Linked DNA regions of Homo sapiens: all the other regions are linked to region 1. Evidence: promoter capture Hi-C in 16 types of primary human blood cells and fetal thymus (Javierre and others, 2016). All regions are on one chromosome and are shown on one strand. The core of a region is centred on a gene start or on the middle of the fragment in contact, and the rest is flanking DNA. Distances in the headings are between cores, read along the strand shown.

What was found. Contacts are between HindIII fragments. The CHiCAGO score rates a contact against its expected background, and 5 or more counts as called.
Region 2: a contact is called between a fragment that was not itself captured here and the fragment with the promoter of CYRIA in region 1, in 1 of 17 cell types (M0 macrophages). The highest score is 8.5, in M0 macrophages.
Region 3: a contact is called between a fragment that was not itself captured here and the fragment with the promoter of CYRIA in region 1, in 1 of 17 cell types (endothelial precursors). The highest score is 7.3, in endothelial precursors.
Region 4: a fragment that was not itself captured here is called in contact with the fragment with the promoter of CYRIA in region 1 in 2 of 17 cell types (monocytes and M0 macrophages); the score reaches 7.1 in monocytes.

What each region holds. Positions count from the first base shown.
Region 1 is chr2:16,664,560-16,667,259 of GRCh38, forward strand. CYRIA (CYFIP related Rac1 interactor A) reads right to left here and starts at 1,275. Exons shown (of 12, transcript NM_030797.4): 1 at 1,221-1,275. RefSeq lists silencers at 1,192-1,241, 1,312-1,481. The HindIII fragment of the contact is 7,241 bases long and covers 1-2,294 here.
Region 2 is chr2:17,809,454-17,812,153 of GRCh38, forward strand. No RefSeq gene overlaps it. Among named protein-coding and RNA genes, the nearest start is that of MSGN1, 5.7 kb to the right of the region's middle. The HindIII fragment of the contact is 2,215 bases long and covers 335-2,549 here.
Region 3 is chr2:15,628,012-15,630,711 of GRCh38, forward strand. It overlaps DDX1 (DEAD-box helicase 1), which reads left to right. Exons shown (of 26, transcript NM_004939.3): 21 at 434-506; 22 at 627-699; 23 at 786-828; 24 at 1,591-1,686; 25 at 1,979-2,099. Among named protein-coding and RNA genes, the nearest start is that of DDX1, 37 kb to the left of the region's middle. The HindIII fragment of the contact is 1,371 bases long and covers 732-2,102 here.
Region 4 is chr2:17,760,456-17,763,155 of GRCh38, forward strand. It overlaps GEN1 (GEN1 Holliday junction 5' flap endonuclease), which reads left to right. Exons shown (of 14, transcript NM_001130009.3): 3 at 941-1,127. Among named protein-coding and RNA genes, the nearest start is that of GEN1, 7.7 kb to the left of the region's middle. The HindIII fragment of the contact is 904 bases long and covers 812-1,715 here.

The DNA of each region.
Region 1 (2,700 bases), core at 25-2,524:
CGACAATGATCCACCCAAAGAACTCTGGTACCCAAGCCCAGACCTGGCTAGCAGCCACTCTCCTCCTGCTGCCCCAGCACAAGTCCCAGCCTTCCAGGGTCCCAGATCAGCATTCTGTGCCCTGGGGACTCGACACTGTGCAGATGGCCCAGGTCCCATCCAGAGGAGATAGTGACTGGTGACAGAGAGGAAAGTTTCTAACAGGGAGAAAAGGAGGGTCACAGAGCTTCAGGGGAGATCAGGGCCCTAAACTCCAGCCCCATGACCCTGTCTTGGGTTCCCTGGGGAGCAGGCGGGTAAACAAGGGTGTGGGAGAGGACATCAGGCCCTGGACACAGAAAGATTGCTCCATCAGTTCTGGACCTGGCACCCCCAAAACAGTGGCTGGGGGAATTCTGGGGATGCGTGGGGAAATAGCTTTGGAGGCCTTAAATGACAAAGATCTTGGCCCTGGTCTCTGGGGACACTGGCTAGCGAGTAGGAGCAGCTTGGAGGAGGACCCAGGGACGGGCTGGCCCATTTTGACAGAGAATGTCTCCTGGCAGACAAGACAGGTGTCTCCACCAAAAAGCATGGCTGGCCTGGGACCAGCATTTTGGGAAGTGGGTCAAATTGTTCCCAAAGCTCAGTATTGGAAAAGTGCCTTTTGCCAAACTGGGGTTCTGGGTTCTGGGGGAGGAGAGAGGGTGACGGCAAGGTGTGCTGGGTCCTAGGCACAGCAGCTTTCTGGCTGGCTAAGAACGTCTGTGGCAGGTGGCAACAGAAGGGTCCAGGTGTGCAGGGGCTGGGGAGGGGGCCATCCCTCCCTTTGGGGCTGTAGAGAGTACCCAGGACCCCGGGGCCTCGGGTGGTGGGAAGGGGAGTGTTAGGGGTCCCCTGCAAGAATGGAGCTTATGATACCTGGGGTGGGGGGTAAGTGAGTGAGGGACGAGGGAGGGTGGTCTGGGAAAGGAACACAATCAGGAGGCAGCCCTCTCAGAAAGAGGGCAACGGGGCACAAAGCCGGACCTCTGTCCGGCGATCGCTAGAGAAGGGCTCCCGGACGGTGTCCTCCGCTCTCCCTCCCTCCCAAAGGCTGCAGGGGCGTCCGGGAGGAGAAGGATGGCAGGGAGGCGCCCGCCCCGCCTCGCGGTGCCCCGCGGTGCCCCGTGCAGGCCGAGCCCCGCGCCCGCAGACCCCCGCCCGCGCCCCTGCCGCGCCCCCAGCCGCGCCGCGCTCACCGAGTCGCCGCCGCCCTGCTCTGCCGCCCGCTCCGCCGCCGCCGAGTACGCCTCTCCCGCGGCCGCCGCAGCCTGCGAGACGGCCTCGGAGCCCCGCCCCGCCCCTCCCCGTCCCTCCCCGCCCCGCCCCGCCCCCAGCCCGGCTCGCGGCAGCCGCCCCGCCCCGGCCCCGGGGGATCCCCACCCGCGCTGTCACCGGCCGCGTCCTCACCCTAGCCTGGACAACCCCATCTCTTTGCCCGGCTCTGCTCTCTGCTCCCAGGAGCTGGTGCGGACCCGCCCCAGCACGGTCGCCCCTGCCCCTTCTCAGCCTTGGCCACTTGGCCTTGCCTTCCCAGAGGAAGCCCGAACCAGACCTTTCTGTTTCTGCACACCAAATTCCTCCACACCCACGGTTGCCCTCCAAGAAAAAGAAATCCCCGCAATCTCTAGACGCATATTCACCTTCAAATTAATGCCCAGCCAAATCATCCCAATCCCTAGGCACACTCCAAATTACTTGAGATTCTGAACCCAGTCTCGCTCCCAGTCCCTTTCTGCCCACCCTATTAACAGATCTCCAGCCTTGGGGCCCGCAGTTATCCGATAGGACCACTGTAAAGTCTTCCCAAAGGCTCAATCCAAAACATGTAATTAACCTTAAAGAGTAAGTCTGCAAAAACACTTAAAAAATTCTATGATGCAAAAAGAAAGTAGTGGGTTACAGCGTCATTGACGTGATCATTGTTCTAAAACATCTGCCATGGAGGCTTTTTGCATTAGAGAGAGGGAGATTCAGGAAACCGGAGAGGACTCAGCAGTGCCAAACAGGTTGTGAGTCAGAGCTCCTGTTGAGGGGAGGGAGAGCTCCTGGGGACCCCGGCTTCGGGTGCTTCCTTTCCCAGTCCATCAGCCAGAACATCATGAAACATGTGTTAAATCCCCATAGTGTGCCAAGGTACGTGCCCGAAGCTGCATGGGTTGGGGCCCTGTGTGGGCTGGGATCAGAGGAGGCGGGAAGCATCAGGAGAAGGTGTTCAGGCCCCTCTCCTTTCTGAGATCCAGGGTGTTTCCCCTGGGAGGACTTGTTGCCCAAGCTTCCTTTGCACTCTGAAAGGCTCTCCTGAACTGCCCACAGAGGCTCTTGGTCTGTTTTTTGGCAAAAATTCACAGAGGGCAGGAAGGCACTGTCTAGTTAGAGTGAAATATTTTCCCACTTGGAAGGGGTCCTTAGGACCAGAAGAAACACTTTCCCGTTCTCTTTTTGAGTTTTCCCCATGCCCTAGACCAGCCTCTGTTGTCAATTCCTGCAAAGGTGTTTTTTTTGTTTTTGTTTTTTGAGACAGAGTCTCACTCTGTAGCTCAGGCTGGAGTGGAGTGGTGTGATCTCGGCTCACTGCAACCTCCATCCCCCGGGGTTCAAGCAATTCTCCTGCCTCAGCCTCCAGAGTAGCTGGGACTACAGGCGCCTGCCACCACATCCGGCTAATTTTTGTATTTT
Region 2 (2,700 bases), core at 192-2,691, 1.1 Mb after region 1:
ATACCCTGAGCAACTTGAAGACAAACGCTTTTTAATTTGACTTTCTGTCCTCAGCACCCAGTACAGTATTTGGCACCCAGCATGCGCCAAGTAAAAGCCCAAAGACCAAAGGACTAGTCATCTTCTGAGCTCCTGGCACCATGCTAAGAGATAGAAAAGCCATCATCTATATCTTTAAAGACGTTTCAATGTAGCTGATGGGAATAAGTCATATCCATGTGAACAGAGAACCAGAATATCAGGTGGTAAATATTAATGGCAAATGAATGGTGCCAAATCTAAGTGCTACTGATCAGAAAAGTGGGAAATTCCAAGGGCTGAGGCAGGCAGGGAAAGCTTCATGGAAGAGGCAAGATTGGAACCAAGCCTTGCATCTTGTACCTATTCCCAGTGATTACATTACATGTATGAAGCTGTTTTTGGGAAATAGTGTAGTAGAGTAGAATTTGAAATTATAATTATGTAGTACGGGGGGATTTGGAATTCACACAGACTTAGATCGCATTCTACTTTTCCCATCCTCTTGCTGTGTCTGCTGGGTCTCTTTCTGAACACAAATTTCTTCATCTTTAGGTTGTGGATTAGAACCTCTATCTTTCAAAATTGCTGCGAAAATTAAGATTAACTAATGAACCTGAAAGAGAAAAGTCTGGTTCTCAGCACATGGCAGGAATGCAATAAAGGTTCACCCTCATTTTAATTAGACTCCAGGGTTAGATTTCTTAGTTTATTGACCAAATTCTTATCTATGGAAGGCTTTTCTGAAGCATTATTAGGAGTTGGAATTCACTGGAGTCCTCCCTCTGACTCGAACAAATGGCCCATACAAACTACCTCATGTAGAACAGGGATCCAGGAGATCACAAGAGAAATAGACCCTCAACCTTGATGCTTCTCAAAGGTCTGAGACGGTCCTATTTCTCATGAGACAGGCTTTTAAAGGAGCATGAACCACCTTCCATGCTGATTTACCTGGTGTCATGTATCATGGCAAATGGCTGGGTTTGGAGCAGATAATTGCATTGGTGAAAGTATTTTTGTTAATCTTGGTAATATCAAAACATATCCCTATACTCTTTCATACTTTCCAAAGTCAAGTCTCAATTTTTTAATTTTTAAAAATGTCATAGCAACACAATATATAAGATTCCTAATTTTCACACAAGGAAACTGAGGTCCGCAAAGGTTGAATGACTCACTCAAATTTCCATAGTAAAGTAGAGGATTTGGGTGCCTTGAGTGACAGTTCCACATTTCTAGACTGAATTCCAAGTTCTCTTTGGCAGTGGTGTACCAAGGATGGGGGTGTTGGTGGGAGTGGGCTTCCCTAAAGAGGAGTCATTTTATTATTGTCATTGTTTAGAATTGCCACTACATGGTTATAATAAGATAAAGACCAACTTTTAGCCAAGCATTATCACTGTTTTAAAATTATATGTAGACAATACCTCCCTTTATTGCCTACACCAGAGGCTGAAGGTTCTCACCACCCATCCAGGGTACGCCACTACTCTGGTTCCATTAAAAAAGAAAGATTACATTTGAATGGAGGGATTTTGGTTTCTAAGCAGGGGGGACTTGAGGCCAAGAGAAAGTGGGAGTGATATATTTGTGGCTACTTGTATTGTGGCTCTAACTTCTCTTGACTCAAGGAACCAAGAATGTACCCAGCACAAGATTTTTGTTTGTTTGTTTTTTTGAGATGGAGTCTTGCTCTGTCACCAGGCTGGAGTACAGTGGCACGATCTCGGCTCACTGCAATCTCCGCCTCCCAGGTTCAAGTGATTCTCCTGCCTCAGCCTCCCAAGTAGCTGGGATTACAGGCACATGCCACCACACCGAGCTAATTTTGTATTTTTAGTAGAGACGGGGTTTCACCATGTTGGCCAGGATGCTCTCGATCTCCTGACCTCGTGATCCACCCACCTTGGCCTCCCAAAGTGCTGGGATTACAAGCATGAGCTACAGCACCCTGCCCCAGCACAAGATTAATAATTACAGCAACATTAGTTACCACACTTACAGTTTACAATGTGTAAACCTGCTAAAAGCGTGTACTCTATAAGGCAAGTATTAGTATTTCAATTGCACAGATGAAGATGAAGCTGAAGCTGAGAAAGATTGATTCATGTGTCCCAGGTCACAATAACAGAGGAGGAAATGTAAGATGTGACAGGTTTGACCTGGCTCCTATTCCTGCACTCTTGCCACTACCCCCATGTTCTATCTGTTCACCGATGTTCAAACAGCCACCAAAGTACTAAAAATGCTAACATTGCAGAGGAGGCACATCACAGGGGCTCCCAGGGCCACTGCTTGAGGAGGGTGCACCCTGCACAAAGGTGCTGGGCTGAAGAGGCAAGCAGGGCTGAAATAAGCCTTAGCTTGGTTGTTTTGTAATTTGCACAAAGGAGCCGTATGGGCTGGTAATGGCATGGAACCACCGGTGGCCACAGCTTAAGGAATTCCATCAGCCTCTTGATTTCTGTTTTCTGTCTATCCTTTGAGCACTATTTGCCAATTTCCTGGAAGTGGCTCTGCCTCAAGAAAGCTTCCTGGCTCTTAAATGTAGAGTTTACAATCCTCTGAGGCCAGTGTGAAATGCCCAGTTGTCCTGACTGTTGTCAGGAACATGACCAGCATTCCCTCAGAAGCTCATCATTCTGAAAATTAGACACAGACCACTTATTAATATGTATG
Region 3 (2,700 bases), core at 167-2,666, 1.0 Mb before region 1:
CCCTTGAGAATTTTGTCTGTTACAAAAAATGTAGCCTCCAGGTAAAATATCTAGTATTCTGAGTTTATTTGAATTTAAGAGTAAAGATAATGCTTATGTCTGTACATTGTATTCTGTTTTGTCTTTCTCTTCAATTTCTAAAGATATTTATAAAGATTAAGCCAAGTTTTAGCAATAGTTTAATATCTTTGAGTAGAAAAAGAAAAGCAAAAATGAACCCAATCTCTGATTTAATCACCTTAAATGTCATGTTTCAGCAGATCATGACATAAAACTTCAAGACTTGGTCCAGTAAATTAGGAGTATGTCGACCTCTAATCTGATAGTAACACTTGAGTTTTTAGAGGTCTCATTTAGTGGAAGGATAGCATTTGTTTTTATTGTTTAGTATATGTGCTAACAAACTCCTTTCTCTCTTCACTGTTCTCTTTAGAAAGGAGATGTAAGATTCTTGATTTGCACAGATGTAGCTGCTAGAGGAATTGATATCCACGGTGTTCCTTATGGTAAAAAGCAACTTTTTATGCCTGTAGTGTGATTGTTACGGAATCTAAAGTAAAGCCTTCTAATATGTTTGAAAAATTTAGAAACTACTGGCAATTGTTAATAATGGTTTTTATTTATAGTTATAAATGTCACTCTGCCCGATGAAAAGCAAAACTACGTACATCGAATTGGCAGAGTAGGAAGAGCTGAAAGGTACTTCTGCAATTTTTTTTCCCCCATTTTTAAGCTTGTATGCTTTAGGAATAAAGTCTAATAGAAGGCTTTTAACCATCTTTCAGGATGGGTCTGGCAATTTCCCTGGTGGCAACAGAAAAAGAAAAGGTAATCTTTGTAGGGCTCTATTATATTCATTGTGTGTGTTGTGATTTTAGATGTTGGAAATAAAAGCAGTTTGATTTTCCCATTTAAATTTAATTCAGCTGCGTATGGAATACAAATGAACTTTTTAATGTCATCTTTTTTCCTATATTCATTGAATGGACAAATAATAGGGTGAAATTTAGAAAGGAAAAATGCAAAATATAATTTTTCCAACTAGCTTTATTGTACTCATTTCCACCAAAAAATATTTAAACATTTTCTGGCATGGTGCCATGGAAGACCTTTCATGGTGAGGGGAGATTTATTTTGATATAATTACAAATTTATAGAAAAGTTGTATTCATAAAGAGCTCCCATATACTCATTGCCAAATTCAGTAGTTGTACATTTTGCATTATTTGCTTTATTATTCTCTTATACAAAAGATTTGAACTTATTTTTCTTTTGAACTTTTTTATGTTAATATTGACATAGTATGCTTCAATATTTACTTTTTCATCCTACTTTTATCTGAGAATTCCTTTTGATATCTGACACCCATTTTAGGAAAACTTTTGGATTATTCTCAAAAAGAACTTTTTCAGAAGACCTATTTATTCAATGAGCTACTGAATAGTAGTGGTAATTGGATGATATATCATACCTATAATCTATTTTTCTAGTGCCTTGAGGACAGAAAACAATTAAAAACAAATTTAGAATAAGATATTTAGCATGTCTCTATCTCCATGCATGTTAATATTTTTTCCTTTTTAAATTTAGGTTTGGTACCATGTATGTAGCAGCCGTGGAAAAGGGTGTTATAACACAAGACTCAAGGAAGATGGAGGCTGTACCATATGGTACAACGAGATGCAGGTAAGACTTCGAGTTAGGCTCACAAATAATGTATTAAAATGGTAGAATAGAAAGCATTTATCTTCAAAAATTATATCTTGGCTTTTATCTGTTTGTCACTTATAAGGGAAAGTCGTAGTTGGTTATAATGTTATCTGCACTTTGCTAATTGTAAGTTGTGAATTTCTCTCTTCAGAAATCTGACTTCCATTTATACCAAGCATTCTGGCCTTTCCAGCTTTATTTAATGATGATAAAATGCAACTCTTTCTAAATGAAATTTTTATTTGGAAATTTTCTCTCCATTACTTAGTTACTATCTGAGATAGAAGAACACCTGAACTGTACCATTTCTCAGGTTGAGCCGGATATAAAGGTACCAGTGGATGAATTTGATGGGAAAGTTACCTACGGTCAGAAAAGGGCTGCTGGTGGTAAGCTTTGAATTATTTTAAATACAATTTTAAATGTAAATATACCTGTTTTGAACTTCGGTTTGGGAAGGCAGTACTTTCATTTCATTAGGTTAAGAGTATATTTTTAGCGTGTTAATCATTCCCTCCTTATTACCCTCATAGTACTTTGTCCATACCTGCCTTGTAGCATTTTTAAATTGTGTCATCTTTATGTGAATGAAAGACTTCAGCTTAGCTCTTTCTCTTGAAGTGTTAATGTCATAAGAGTAGTTGAACATTTTGTGGAATTAGTAGGAAACAAGAGCATAATAGGTGATTTTGAACAAGGAATCAGAAGCCTTTGACTTAACTCAGGTGGTAATTCAGCATATTATTTCCTCTGCCTGGGATGCCCTTTTGTTAGCTTGTTCCTGAAAAATTGTAAGACTCAGGCCTAACTAGTTGTTTCCGAGCCAAGGGTGGGTAGAGGTGTTGGGACAGCTGTTAGTGAGGCCTAATTATTTATTTATATTGAAATAATTGATTTAACATTTTTTAAAGTCAAAGTTCTGGAGATAACTTGCCCAGTAGTACATTTTATTGCTGCAAGCAAAGTTTAAAGTGATATAATTGAGCCAAA
Region 4 (2,700 bases), core at 14-2,513, 1.1 Mb after region 1:
TCACAAACTTATCTCAGTGTCCAGAGGCACCACCTCAGTCTATGCCAACCTCATCTCTCATCTATACTCCTGAAGTGCCATCTTCACTAGTTTCTTGCTCTTGGCCTCCCCTACCCCAGACTATTTTCCACATAGCAATTAGAATAATCATAAATCTTTCTTGCTTAAAAATATTCAGTGGTTTGGCCGCGTGCAGTGGCTCACGCCTGTAATCCCAGCACTTTGGGAGGCCGAGGCAGGTGGATCACAAAGTCAGGAGTTTGAGACCAGCCTGGCCAAGATGGAGAAACCCCATCTCTACTAAAAATAAAAAAAAATTAGCTGGGTGTGGTGGCAGATGCCTGTAATCCCAGCTACTTGGGATGCTGAGGCAGGAAAATCACTTGAACCTGGGAGGTGGAGGTTGCAGTGAGCCGAGATCACACCACTGCACTCCAGCCTGGGCAACAGAGTGAGACTCCACCTCAAAAAAAAAAAAAAAATCAGTGGTTTTGGCCGGGCACAGTGGCTCACACTTGTATTCCTAGCACTTTGCGAGGCTGAGATGGGCGGATTATTTGAGCTCAGGAGTTCAAGACCAGCCTGGGCAACATGGTGAAACCCCATCTCTACAAAAAATACAGAAAATTAGCCGGGCATGGTGGCACACACCTGTAGTCCCAGCTGCTTGGGGACTGAGGCAGGAAGATCACTTGAGCCAGGAGATTGAGGCTGCACTGAGACAAGATCATGCCACTGCACTCCAGCCTGGGTGACAGAGTGAGACTCTGTCAAAGAAAAAGAAAATTCAGTGGTTTTCCACTCTAATTAAAGCTTAAGTAAAATGTTATTACATTAACGTTTTTGATACTAGTCTAATGTTCTTGCCTTTGTGTTATACTATTTTGACTTTTACTATCAGTGTTTGATGATTAATGTATTACTAATTTATATATTTCAGGAACTTATTTTTTCGTATCTCATATTTAACACAAATGGATGTAAAACTGGTATTTGTTATGGAAGGGGAACCACCAAAGCTGAAAGCTGATGTCATAAGCAAGAGGAATCAGTCTCGGTATGGGTCTTCTGGAAAATCGTGGTCTCAGAAAACAGGGAGATCACATTTTAAATCAGTCTTAAGAGAGGTGAGCATTCAGATTTGATTCAGTAATTCCGATTTGAATTAAAGGGTGCATTTTACTCTTAATAGTTTGTCATCTTTAATACTTATTAATTTTATTGTGACTAGCAGGGATGTGCCTAGAGAAAAGAGTTTATTTTTTAGAGTGAAATTGACCTGAGTTTCATTCTTGGCACTGGTATGTAGAAACTCTGAGACACTGAGCAAAATTTGTAACCTATCTCTACCTTGTATGTTACCTTGTGAAATGACAACAGTAATACTCAGCAGGGATGTGATAAAAATAAGAGAAAGTATATCTAAAGCAACTAGTACATGGTAGGAACTTGATCATATTACCTTTTATAACACCTTCAGGACTTAAAGAAGTCCCAGAATACATGAGATCTCATTAATTCGTACTTCACTCATTCAGAATTCATGATAGTTCATATACAGAATATATATTTGGCTTCCCTTAGGGCTTGTAATTTTAAAAACTGTCGTTACATTATAATATATTATTTATATGTTACTTTAATATTGCTATATTTTATATTTGTATGAAACTTAAGAAAGAAATCATCTATAGTATATAATTAAAACAATAGGAAGCTTTTTTTTTTCTGTTTTCTTTTTTTGGTTGTTTTTTTTTTTTTTTTGAGATGGAGTCTCGCTCTGTCACCCAGGCTGGAGTGCAGTGGCGCAATCTCGGCTCACTGCAAGCTCCGCCTCCTGGGTTCTCACCATTTTCCTGCCTCAGCCTCCCGAGTAGCTGGGACTACAGGCGCCCGCCACCACACCTGGCTAAGTTTTTTTTGTTTTTTTTTTAGTAGAGACAGGGTTTCACTGTGTTAGCCAGAATGGTCTCGATCTCCTGACTTCGTGATCCGCCTGCCTCGGCCTCCTGAAGTGCTGGGATTACAGGTGTGAGCCCCTGTGCCTGGCCTTTTTTGTCTGTTTTCAAATGTGTGTATTTTTAAAGAGTTGTAGTAGTACACATGATTTTTAACCTAGCCTTTTCACTTAATGCTTCATGTTGTCATATTTCCCTTTTGTCACATTCTAATCAAAATCATAACTTGTAGTGGTTGTGCAACATGTATGAAGCTATGAATCATACCCCTGATTGTATATGTTATTTACTTTTTTAGTTTTTCTCTACTATACATGGAAGTGTGATTAACATTTTTTGTGTATATAATGTTTTCTTGTGATTTGAAATTTTAGATAAAATTACCCAATGTTGGATTGATGGGTCAAAGTTTTGGAATGATTTTATTGCTCTTGCTGATTAATTTCTGCTAATGCAGATGTCAGAGAAGCAGTGTCGGTGCACTCACAAGAACATTGGATGTTAGGAGGCTTGTCTTTGTAATATTTAGTGTGCAACAACAAAGATATTTAATATGCATTTGTCTTTTAATAGTAATGTTAAACATTTCATCTATTTTTAGTCTCCCTTTGGGTAATGGCTATCATCATGTCCTTTACCTACTTACCTCTTGAGGTTTTAATTTTTCTTTTGTGCAAGTTCTTTATGTATTAAGGATATAAGCTTCTATCATATTTGCTTTGAATTTGTTTTTCTTTTTAAT